Linked DNA regions of Homo sapiens: region 2 is linked to region 1. The links are contacts of gene promoters, found by promoter capture Hi-C in blood cells and fetal thymus (Javierre and others, 2016). All regions are on one chromosome and are shown on one strand. The core of a region is centred on a gene start or on the middle of the fragment in contact, and the rest is flanking DNA. Distances in the headings are between cores, read along the strand shown. Region 1 holds the start of EFCAB6 (EF-hand calcium binding domain 6). Region 2 overlaps SCUBE1 (signal peptide, CUB domain and EGF like domain containing 1).

Region 1 (5,491 bases), core at 678-3,177:
TTAAAGAGGAGCAGAGAAATGGGGTGGAAACCAGAAGATCATCTATTTTTTTTTTAAAGATGTGAGATACTAGAGCATGTTCCAAGAAGGAGGGAAAGAGAGAAAGAGAAAGAATGAGACTCTTGGCTATCATGAGAGAGGGAATAACTGAAGCCCTTTTGATCTCAGGACCAAACTTTTTGGCCTCAGGATCCATTCACACTCTTAAAAAGTATTGAGGATCCCAAAAAACTTTTATTTATGTTTATATCTATCAATATTTACCATGTTAGAAAATACAATTGATAAAAAATTTATTAACTCATTAAAAATAATAAACCCATTAGATGTTAACGTTCTCTAATGAAAAATTACACTTTCCAAAAAAGTGAAAAGAGGGGCAGTTTTCTATTTTTGCAGATCTCTTTAACATCTGGCTTAGTACAAGACCGCTGGATCTCTTACCTTCTTTTGCATTCAATTTGTTGCAATATCACACATCATGTAGCTTCTGGAAAATCCCCCCATATACTTATGAGAGAAAAACAATGAAAAAGCAAGTAAAGTCTTAAGTGTTATGAAAGTATTTTTTGGCCCCATGGACAGTCTGAAAGGGTCTCAGGATCCCCAGGGATTCCCAGACCACACTTAGAGCACTGCCTATAATAAAGAAGGCAAATGGGGAGGGATCCAGGACACAGTTAGAGGGACTGGCCTCTGTAAGAGACCCTCTTTTGGGGCAAGAGGAAAAGAGGCGATGAATGCCAAAGTGATTGTGAAGGAGTGCATTCCATTCTTATGCATTACATTTTCTCAATGGGATAAGACCCATGGTCATTGAGTCCGGTGAGGAAGTAGTGAGTGCGGGAGGTCTGAGACAAGCCATGGGAAAGAATTCTCTTGGTGAACAGGAAAACTAGCTGCCCAGTGAAGTAGTCAGAGTGCCCAGCAGGGACCGCATAGTATCCATCTTTGCAGCACACACCAGGGCACCTAATTGACCTGCCGCAGCCATGTGTGCAAGGAATTCCAAGCTGCACACGTCTGCCTGGCTGCTTCTCTCCCACAGTGAGCAGTGTGGCAGGGTGCCTAAGAGCAAGCTCCATAGGTTCTCATTCTGCTCCTACCCCTGACTGGCAGTGTGTCCTTGAACAAAATGCTCTGTGTGCCTCAGTTACCTATCTGTAAAATGGGAGTAACCACAGCACCCACCTCACAGGGTTGTTGTGAAGACAAATGAAGATGACAATTACATGTAAAGTACATACCTAGGATGGGTGAGTGCCTGGCAAGGGAAGTGCTCCATAGGGTCAGCGACAACAATTACATTCACTCACGTGATTTATGGCGCTTCCACTCGGCCCTCTGTCTTAGTAATAATTCACTCATTTAGCGAATATCAATGGAATGGATGCTTACTGTGGGTATGGGCGGAGGCTGAGGTTACAGCCTGGGCAAAGCAGGCCAGCTCCCGTCCTCACCGGCTGTCTCCTCGAGCAGACAAGCGGACCCAGTGAGACCCGCTACGTGGTGGCACAATGCGAGTCCCCATGACTGCTCACCCTAACGAAGGCGCAGGATGCGGTAGGGGCTTTGCGGACCTCACTGCAGCCAATCCTGACCACAGGCCCCAGTGGGCACGCTTAGCCTTTTACAGATGCAGAGTCTGCTTCTCAGAGCAGGGGGCTGACTTCCCCCGGCTACACGGCCCTATGCAGTTCGGTGGGACCGGGCCGACCGCCCAGCTCGCGCTAAAGCCCACGTAACAGAAACCCGCTCCCATGACACGGGTCGCCAGGGTTCCCGCTCCCCAGAGAACGGGACTTCCGGCGGAAATTTCTTCCGGGAGCGGAGGCGCGGGACTGACCTGGCCCCGCCCCCTCCTCGTTTATCTCCAATTGACCAATCACAGCTCAGCTTCTTGCCAGGCGCGTAGGCTCATTCTCCAGTCAGCGACTGCCGTCGTCTCTCGGGCAACAGCGTCCTAGAGACGCCGAATGGGCAGCCCCTCTGAGACCCCGCGGCTTGGGGTCCGCGCACGCGGGTGCCGGCCCAGCTAGGCGGAGAATCGAGGAGGGGTTCCCGGTAAGGCTGTATTCGGGGTGGCCACGCGCGTGCGACAGGCCGAGGAGGGGCCGGGCGGGCGGGCAGCTCCGTGGGTCTCACTGCCCTGAGAAGGCCGGCGCTGCTGCCCACCCCCAGGGACGAAGGGGTGGTGATTCGTTTATTCAGGTGTTCATGGCGCGTCTGCTTGTGCCAGGCATGTTGTAGGCCCTGGGGCCCTGTGGGGAACAGTAGGGCCCCTGTTCCCGTAGCTTACCTGATATGTGGAGAAGAACGATAAACAACGCTGACGGTGGTGACGTCTTCTTCCCTGCCTCTCTGTGAGAATCAGCTGGGAAATGTGTGTGGAAACGCCCTAAATCTCTCCAGTTTACAACATGTCTCATGCCCCTGATTTCATTTGTGCCCACAGCAGTCTTGTGAATGTCATGATTGACTCCCTCCTGTAGACAGACGAGGACTTGAAACCTGTGGGGTGAAGGGGCTTTTCCAAAGTCACACAACTATCTTAGGAAGTTTCTGAGCCAGAATTCAAACTCATTTCTGTATCACGGCAAAATCTCTGCTCTTTTACACTCTTCTCCCACAGCCTGCACATAATTACCCCTGCCTCCCTCAGAAATTTTGTTTGGAAGCACTTTGTGAGGTATACATCTGTATAGGGCTTACTTGAAGGTTGTCCAAATCACCCCTCTCTCTACTCCCTTCCTTTCTCTCCAAATCTTTGCCTTTCAGGATGTCTTGCCCCTGTTAAGAGGACTCTTCTTTTCTTTTCTTTTTTCTTTTCTTTTCTTTTCTCCCTCCCCTCCCCTCCCTTCCCTTCCCCTTTCTTCCCTTCCTCCCCTCCTCTCTCCTCCCCTCCCCTTCCCCTCCGCTCCCCTCCCCTTCCCTCCCCTCGCCTCTCCTTTTCTTTCCTGATGGAGTCTTCCTCTGTCACCCAGGCTGGAGTGCAGCGATCCCAGCTCACTGCAACCTCCACCTCCCGGGTTCAAGCGATTCTCGTGCCTCGGTGTCCCAAGTAGCTGGGATTACAGGCGCCTGCCACCACGCCCAGCTAATTTTTGTATTTTTAGTACAGACGGGATTTCACCATGTTGGCCAGGTTGGTTTCAAACTCCTGACCTCAAGTGATCCATCCGCCCGCCTTGGCCTAATTTAATATGTGTTCCTAAATGGGTGGCCTTAACAGAAATGCTGTAAATCAATTCTACTTTCATACACTACAGTTCATGTCTTTTATCCATTGCCTTCAATTCAGCAAACGTTTACTTGGCTAAGTTCTGGGGATATGAAAGTGAGTCAGAAATGGCCCCTTTGATTATATGTGAAGATATTTGCCTCCTATCCAGTCTTATTGCAAGATCCTTTGAGGATGAGGATTTTATTTTAGTTATCTGTGCTTTCCCTTTTTCCTCTATGCTTATTTTAATGCTTGGTTCATGATAGGTGATCATAGATATTTATCAAGAAGTGCTTACCTGAGACTGTAAATTTCGCTCTCCAGGGAAAAACTGCCCTGTTCCAGCTATCTACCTCTTCCCCTTGTACAGAGATCTCTATAGCACCCATGCTCTGATCTCTGCAGCTGACTGGCACCTGGAGACAGAACCAGCTCCATGAGGATGTTTAGTAGCCTGGTGCCTGCCCAGATCAGGAATCTGGTGAGAGGCCACTGGTTGTTAACAAGGCAGTTGTTAACAACTGAGACAGGTTTGAGAAAACTGTGAATAGAGATAACATGAATATGATACCCTTTCAGTATTAAAAGCTTCATTTTCTACTTTTGGTTTTGATCTTTCACTGCTATTTTGTTTACTTTGTTTCAGGTACCATTTGTTACTTTTTCTTTCCATCTATTTGTCCACAGTTTTACTACTTCTATTTCTACTACAGCAACTACTAATACTACTACTGGCTAATACTAATTGAACACTTACTGTGTGCCAAGCACAGTTTGGTCCCTCATACTTTTTAAATTTAGTCCTCACAAGTTGGCTATGGAAAAGTACAAGTTGGGTGTGGTGGCTTATGCCTGTAATCCTACCACTTTGGGAGGCTGAGGCAGGAGGATCGCTTGAGGCCAGGAGTTCGAGACCAGCCCAGGCAACAAAGTCAGACCCCCCCCATATCTATGGTGGCATGTGCCTGTACTTCCAGCTACTCAGGAGGCCGAGATGGGAGGATCACTTGAACCCAAGAGTTTTAGGTTGCAGTGAGCCATGATAATGCCACTGTACTCCAGCCTGGGCGACAGAATGAGACCCTGTCTCAAAAAACAAAACAGGCTGTGCGCGGTGGCTCATGCCTGTAATCCCAGCACTTTGGGAGGCCGAGGCGGTTGGATCACCTGAGGTCAGGAGTTCGAGACCAGTCTGGCCAACGTGGTGAGACCCTATCTCTACTAATACAAAAAATTAGCCAGGCATGGTGGCAGGCACCTGTAATCCCAGCTACTCCAGAAGCTGAGGCAGGAGAATCTCTTGAACCTGGGAGGTGGAGGTTGCAGTGAGCCGAGGTCACACCATTGCACTCCAGCCTAGGCAACAAGAGTAAAACTCCATCTCAAAACAGACAAAACCAAAACCAAACAAAAAAACAAAACAAAAGGCAACAGGGACACAGAGAGGTTAAGGGACTTAACAAAGCTGATAAATGGTAGTGAGTATGGCTCCAACTCCAGGACTGCCTGATAATAACCTGTGTTCTTGATGAGTATGCTATCACTCTCAAACACTTATATACTCTACAAGTCCTGCCAAGGCTTTGAGATGACTTGTAAGAATAACTACAATGTGATAAAATAGAAACATGTAAATCAGAATCATTAAAAATATAGACAGAATAGGAAGGTATCAGAAAGAAGGAATACTCAGATCATCTATAACGGTTAATAAAGTTGGGCTGGAAATTTAGCTGGGAGCTTCTTGTCAACTCATGGAAAAATAAAAGTAAAAAAATAGAAGGTAATAAAATTTATTTTTTTTTCCAGGGAAATAAGGCCTTTTGATTCATCTGGAAAAATAGGTCTAACCTGTTTCTAAAATAAATTTCTCACAGGGCTCATCGCAGAGGATTGGAAGGGCCTAGATTACTGCCCAATGACAAAAGTGTGGGCTTAATGTCCTCACTCTTCAGGGAGAGAATGTGGACTTTAGCATTTGAACTGAATATTTGAGATTGAAGATTTCTGAATAGTAAGTTTTCGATAACACCTTCTGAATGTAGTTTTTCCCCTGGGACGTTGTAAATGGTGTTATCCTGCATCCTGGGTTGGTTTCAGTCATTTGTTTGCTCATTTACTTAGCAACTATTCATTGAGCATCTGCCATATGCCAACCCCTGCCTAAGCATTGGGGATCCCCAGGCAGTGGTCATCTCACTGCCTTGGCACTCCTGGTGTTTCCATCCTGCCAGTTCTTCCTGCTGGGTTTTTTTCTGGACTCACTTT
Region 2 (5,721 bases), core at 3,141-5,640, 620 kb after region 1:
GCTGAGGGCAGCCTGCAGCCAGGTGGCCTCACCTGCTGCCCAGAATTAGGCTGTGCCTTTTCCCAGTCCTTCCCCATGCCAGAGCCTCTCCCCATCTTTCCCCGCGCCAGAGCCTCACAGCCACAGCCACACCAACCTCCCTCCTCTCAAGCAGCAGAATCAGCCTACGCTCCCCAGCCTCAGTGCCCCTGCCCCACACAGGTCACGCTGGCAAGGCGATGACCAGTTTCCGAAACGCTGGATCCCCAAGGGTACAGTGTGGCCCAGTCCTCCCCCACCTCCATGGTGGCCCAGGCTGCAGGGCTCACGGTGGGCCCACGGTGGAGGCCTCAGGCAGCTTTCTCTCCAGCTACCCATTGGCTTAGGACACACAGATAAAGTAGAGCTGAAACACGGGCCAAAACATCCCCAGACAAGGATGGCACAAGAGGCCAAATTTGAAGGCCTTGGGAGAGAAGCCATTTCCCCTACCTCTAACGAGCGTAGTTTTCTGTCTGAATGGCCCCCCTTTTCATGCACGCTCGTTCTTAAGAGACGCACCATCCGCAGGCAGCGTCTCAGTGAAGCCTGTCCCCTGGGCTTGTCCACGGCAGGAGGCCCCTGGCCTGTTTAAGCCATACCGATGCTTAATTTACATTTTTGGAGTTGAATATTATTCCGGTGCCTCCACCACCCCCAGCAGAAAAAATAAGATACTGAAATAAGTTGAGTCATTTCGCAAACATTTACTGAGCACCTCCTGTGTGCCAGGCTCCTAGAAAGACAGGGAGTTGGTGCCCTGCACAGATGACAAACTGCCCCAGACAGCAGACAGACAAACAAACTGCCCCGGACAGCAGACAGACAAACAGACACATTGCCCTGGACAGCAGAGAGACAAACAGACACACTGCCCCGGACAGCAGACAGACAGACACGTTGCCCCGGACAGCAGACAGAAAAACTGCCCCGGACAGCAGACAGACAGACAAACTGCCCCAGACAGCAGACAGACAAACTGCCCCGGAAAGCAGACAGCAAACTGCCCCAGACAGCAGACAGACAGACACACTTCCCCAGACAGCAGATAGACAGACACCCTGCCCCAGACAGCAGACAAGCTGCCCTGGACAGCCTGCTCACCTTGCCTGCCACAGTGCATGCCCCACAGGGAGAAGCCTTCCTTCTCACCCAGGGAGTCCAGCCATTTTCACCTCCCCTGGTCCATGCTCAGGAAGTCTGGTCACCCTGGCAAACTGCACCTGACATTGAGGTCCCTTTTCACCAAAGATGCACAAGGTGTCCATGCCGAGCCGACATCATTCAGGCCAAGGGCAGAGGATGTAATGAGGGGTGGAGTGAGGATGTGGAGAGAGAGCAGAGAGCGCCTCCTATTCTACCGCGGCTGCCTCTGCCCCCACAGCACCCACAGATCCCTGGCCCTTCCAGGAGTAAGTCCTGGGCAGGCAGAGCTGGGGTTGGCCTGATCCCACCTGCCTTGCTCTTGGAAAGGACATCAGGTGTGGGCAAAGCATCCTTGAAGCCCAGACAACACAGGCATGGCCTGCGTGCCCTCCCAGCATCTGCTGCGATGGCCTCAAGGCCTCTCCAGTCCCCTGCTGCACCATGCCACTCAGAGCCCCTGAGTGAGCCCCCTGGAATTGTCTGCACCCCCCAAGCCCCAACAGGAAGAAGGGAAAGGTGGGGAAGCTGACGCTCACTCAGTGCCCACTGGGTGCCAGGCTCTGGGCTCAACCCTCTAATATCCACACATTCCATCCCCCCAGCCCCATGTAGATGGTGGGGTTAAGACCATTCTTCAGATGTGGAAATGAAGGCTCTGGGAGACCACAGGACATGCCCAAGGCAAAGAGTTGGTAGTCCCTGGATTTGGGAATCAAACTCAAGCCCATCTAATCCAAGGGTAGGAAATGTCTCTAAAACGTTGATCAATCTGAAGCTTACAGATTGGAAACTGGGCCAGGTCAGCCCTGGCGGTGGAGTCCAGAGACAGAGAGAAGGCTGCAGGGAGGGGAGAGAACAGGAGGATCCCGGGCCAGGGTGACTTCAGTGACATTCCTTCCCTCCTTCACAAGCACGAAAAACTCGTTCGGAGAAAAGACAGCTTCTGCCTTCCCTACCAGGCGGACAGGGTACTCACTGTGCCGACGTGAGCAGACACAGCCAGAGGCTCAAGTGCCCTTGCCGAGTGTCCCCACTGCTCTTGGGGAGGCCCCGGCACAGCCCTGCAGAGATGCAAGTAAGAGAGTGCCCAGTGCCCTCGGCAGATGGGTGGCAGAAAGCAGGAGGAGGAAGAGGGAGCTGACCGATGCCGGGTGTCTTACTCCGCTGAGATCAGAACCTCCAACATGCCGAGCAGACGCAGGCCACATTGCTCGGGGAACAGGACACCAGGGCGCTGTGCTAGCGGCCCGCAGACTTCACTTCTGGCTCCTGTGAGGGCACTGTATTGTCCAGACGCTTGGCAACGACTCTGCCTGCAAGTGGCAAATACCAACATAACCACATCTTCCTTTTAGTTGCCACAAATATTCAGTTTTGTTTTATCCATCATGTCCCCCATATGCATGTAATGAAACATTTGTGAAAATCACTTTAATAATAAACAGGAAATGAACCTAAATATTGCTCTTTTCTCTTATTCAGCAGAAGTCATGAGTTGGGGGGAAATGCTAACTGGAATCCAGAAAAGAAAAAATAATGGAAGAAATTTCATGACGCTATTGAGGACTGAAAGTAAGGAGCTACAGTAACCTCTGGAAAATAAAGCAGCGAGGTGGAGATCTACGTACAGACGCAGGGGGCGCCCACATTTAGGGAACAGACATGCTTCTAACTGGCAGAAGGCAAAATGTCCATATTTCAAATCCCATTTCCCCGCATAACTCATGATGAAATGAGAGTTTTGTTTTTGTTTTTTTTTTTTTCAGACAAGAGTCTCACTGTTGCCCAGGCTAGAGTAGTGGCGTGATCTCGGCTCACTGCAAGCTCCGCCTCCTGAGCTCACGCCATTCTCCTTCCTCAGCCTCCCGGGTAGCTGGGACTACAGGCGCCCGCCACCACGCCTGGCTAATTTTTTGTATTTTTAGTAGAGACGGAGTTTCTCCGTGTTAGCCAGGATGGTCTCGATCTCTGACCTCGTGATCCGCCCGCCTCAGCCTCCCAAAGTTCTGGGATTACAGGCGTGAGCCACCGTGTCCGGCCAAGAGTTGTTCTTTGACACTGGGGCTTTAATCTGGAAGTCATGGTCACAGTGAGCCTCAGGGAATCTATGACTCATTGAAATTCGGCACGCAATGCTGTGTGTGTGTGTGTGTGTGTGTGTGTGTGTGTGTGTACACATGCATGTACAGATACACATTTCTATTTCTCTGGGAATATGGCCCACAGCTTTCCTCAGGTTCTAAAAGAAATCTAGGGTCAGGTGCAGTGGCTCACACCTATAATCCCAGCACTTTGGGAAGCCAAAGCAGGAGGATTGCATGTGTCCAGGAGTTCGAGACCAGCCTGGGCAACATGGCAAGACTCCCCCATCTCTACAAAAAATGAAAAATAAAAAATAAAAACTGACAAAAGATATATACATGCATTTCGCAGAAGAAGAAACAGGACAGCCAATTACCATTTGAAAAGGTGCTCAATCTCATTAATAATAATGGAAATACAGGCTGCTCTGCCTAGGAGTAGCCATGCTTTTGTTTCTTTACTTCTCTAATAAACTTGCTTTCACACACACACAAATGGAAATATAAATTGAGACAACAAAAATATGCCATGTTAGCACTAGGTTGGCAAAAAAACAATAATAAGTGTGATAAAATCAGAATCAGAGAGGATATGGATCAACTTACTGTATACAAATAGGGAATCTCTTTTTTACATATATGTTCCAGGAAATATACAAAACTATTCATAGCCTCATGTTTATTAGAGCAAAAAGCTTAAGATAACCTAAGTCTCTTCGTGGAAAACTGCATCATAGTCACGTAATTAAATATTATGTAGCTATGACAATTAATTAACATCCTGCAACAAAAGGGATATATCTTAAAAGCAACATGTGCAGGAACAAGACCAGGATGCGTGCCTGCACCGCTCTGCTGGAGGTCTAGCCAGGACAATTAGGCAGGAAAAAAATATAAACAGCATCCAGATTGGAACGGAAACAAAATTATCCATTTCACATGTCCTGATCTTCTATATGGAAGATACTTAAGGAATCCACAAATAATTACTAGAGCTGATGAAATTCACAAGGTTACAGAACATAAGATCAATATATAAAAATCAGTTGTACGGTGGGCACAGTGGCTCACCCCTGTAATCCCAGCACTTTGGGAGGCCAAGGTGGGTGGAGAGCCTGAGCTCAGGAGTTCAAGACCAACCAGTGCAACATGGAGAAGCCTTGTCTCTACCAAAAATACAAAAAATTAGCCAGGCATGGTGGCACGCACCTGTGGTCGTAGCTACTCGGTAGGCCGAGGTGAGAGGATCGCTTGAGCCTAGGAGGCAGAGGTTGCAGTGAGCCGAGATCCAGCCACTGCACTCCACCCTGGGTGACAAAGTAAGACCCCATCTCAAAAAAAGAGAAAAGAAATTAAAGAAGATCTGTACTCTTGGATTGGAAGACAGTATTGTCAAGATGACAGTACTCCCCAAATTGGTCTAGAGATTCAGTGCAATCCCCATCAACATCCAGGCTGGCTTCGTGCACAAACTGACATGCGAATCCTAAAATTCATATAGAAATGCAAGAGACCCATAGTAGCCAAACAGTCTTGAAAAAGAACAAAATTGGAGGATTCACGCTTCTCATTTTTAAAACTTACTACAAGCTTACATTAATCAAGATTTTGTGGTACTAGCAGAAGGACAGACCTACAGATCAATGGAATAGAATTCAGAGTCCAGAAATGAACCCTTAAATTTATCATCCATCAGTTGGTTTTCAACGAGAGTGCCAAAACCATTTAATGGGGAAAAAATAGTCTCTTCAACAAATGGTACTAGGACAACTGGATATCTACATGCAAAAGAAAGGAAGTTGGACCCCTACCTCCTATACAAAAAATCAACTCAAAGTGATCAACGACTGAAATGTAACAGCTAAAACTATAAAACTCTTAGAAACTAAGACAGATAAATAAGTCTTTGGAATCTTGAATTAGGCAATGGCTTCTTTTTTTTTTAACTTCAATTTTTGTATTTCCGTTAAGTTTTGGGGGAACAGGTGGTGTTTGGTTACATGAATAAGTTCTTTAGTGGTGATTTCTGAAACCTTGGTGCACCCATCACCTGAGCAGTACACCCTCTACCCAGGCAATGCCTTCTTAAATGTAACACACAAATAATAAGGCACCAAAGAAAAAATATATAAATTGGACTTCACCAAAATTGAAAACTTGTACTTCAAAGGGCTCTGTGAAGAAAGTGAAAAGATAACAGAATAGGAAAAAAACCTTTACAAATCACATATCTGATAAGACTCCAGTATCCAGGATATGTAAAGAACTCTTACAACTCAACAATAAGACAAATAACCTAATTTAAAAATGAACAGGCGGCCAGGCATGGTGGCTCACACCTGTAATCCCAGCACTTTGGGAGGCCGAGGCGGGCGGATCACGAGGTCAGGAGATCAAGACCATCTTGGCTAACACAGTGAAACCCTGTCTCTACTAAAAATACAAAAAACTAGCCGGGTGTGGAGGCAGGCGCCTG

Evidence for each region. Contacts are between HindIII fragments. The CHiCAGO score rates a contact against its expected background, and 5 or more counts as called.
Region 2: a fragment that was not itself captured here is called in contact with the fragment with the promoter of EFCAB6 in region 1 in 1 of 17 cell types (endothelial precursors); the score reaches 5.8 in endothelial precursors.

Annotation. Positions count from the first base shown.
Region 1 is chr22:43,808,741-43,814,231 of GRCh38, reverse strand. It overlaps EFCAB6 (EF-hand calcium binding domain 6), which reads left to right and starts at 1,927. Exons shown (of 32, transcript NM_022785.4): 1 at 1,927-2,064; 2 at 5,101-5,237. It overlaps EFCAB6-DT (EFCAB6 divergent transcript), which reads right to left and starts at 1,810. Exons shown (of 2, transcript NR_186822.1): 1 at 1,248-1,810. RefSeq lists enhancers at 520-1,321, 1,563-1,832 and a silencer at 2,164-2,405. The HindIII fragment of the contact is 9,229 bases long and covers 1-3,813 here.
Region 2 is chr22:43,194,182-43,199,902 of GRCh38, reverse strand. SCUBE1 (signal peptide, CUB domain and EGF like domain containing 1) reads left to right here. Exons shown (of 22, transcript NM_173050.5): 22 at 1-2,623. Among named protein-coding and RNA genes, the nearest start is that of TTLL12, 9.9 kb to the right of the region's middle. RefSeq lists enhancers at 900-1,831, 1,832-2,764. The HindIII fragment of the contact is 895 bases long and covers 3,943-4,837 here.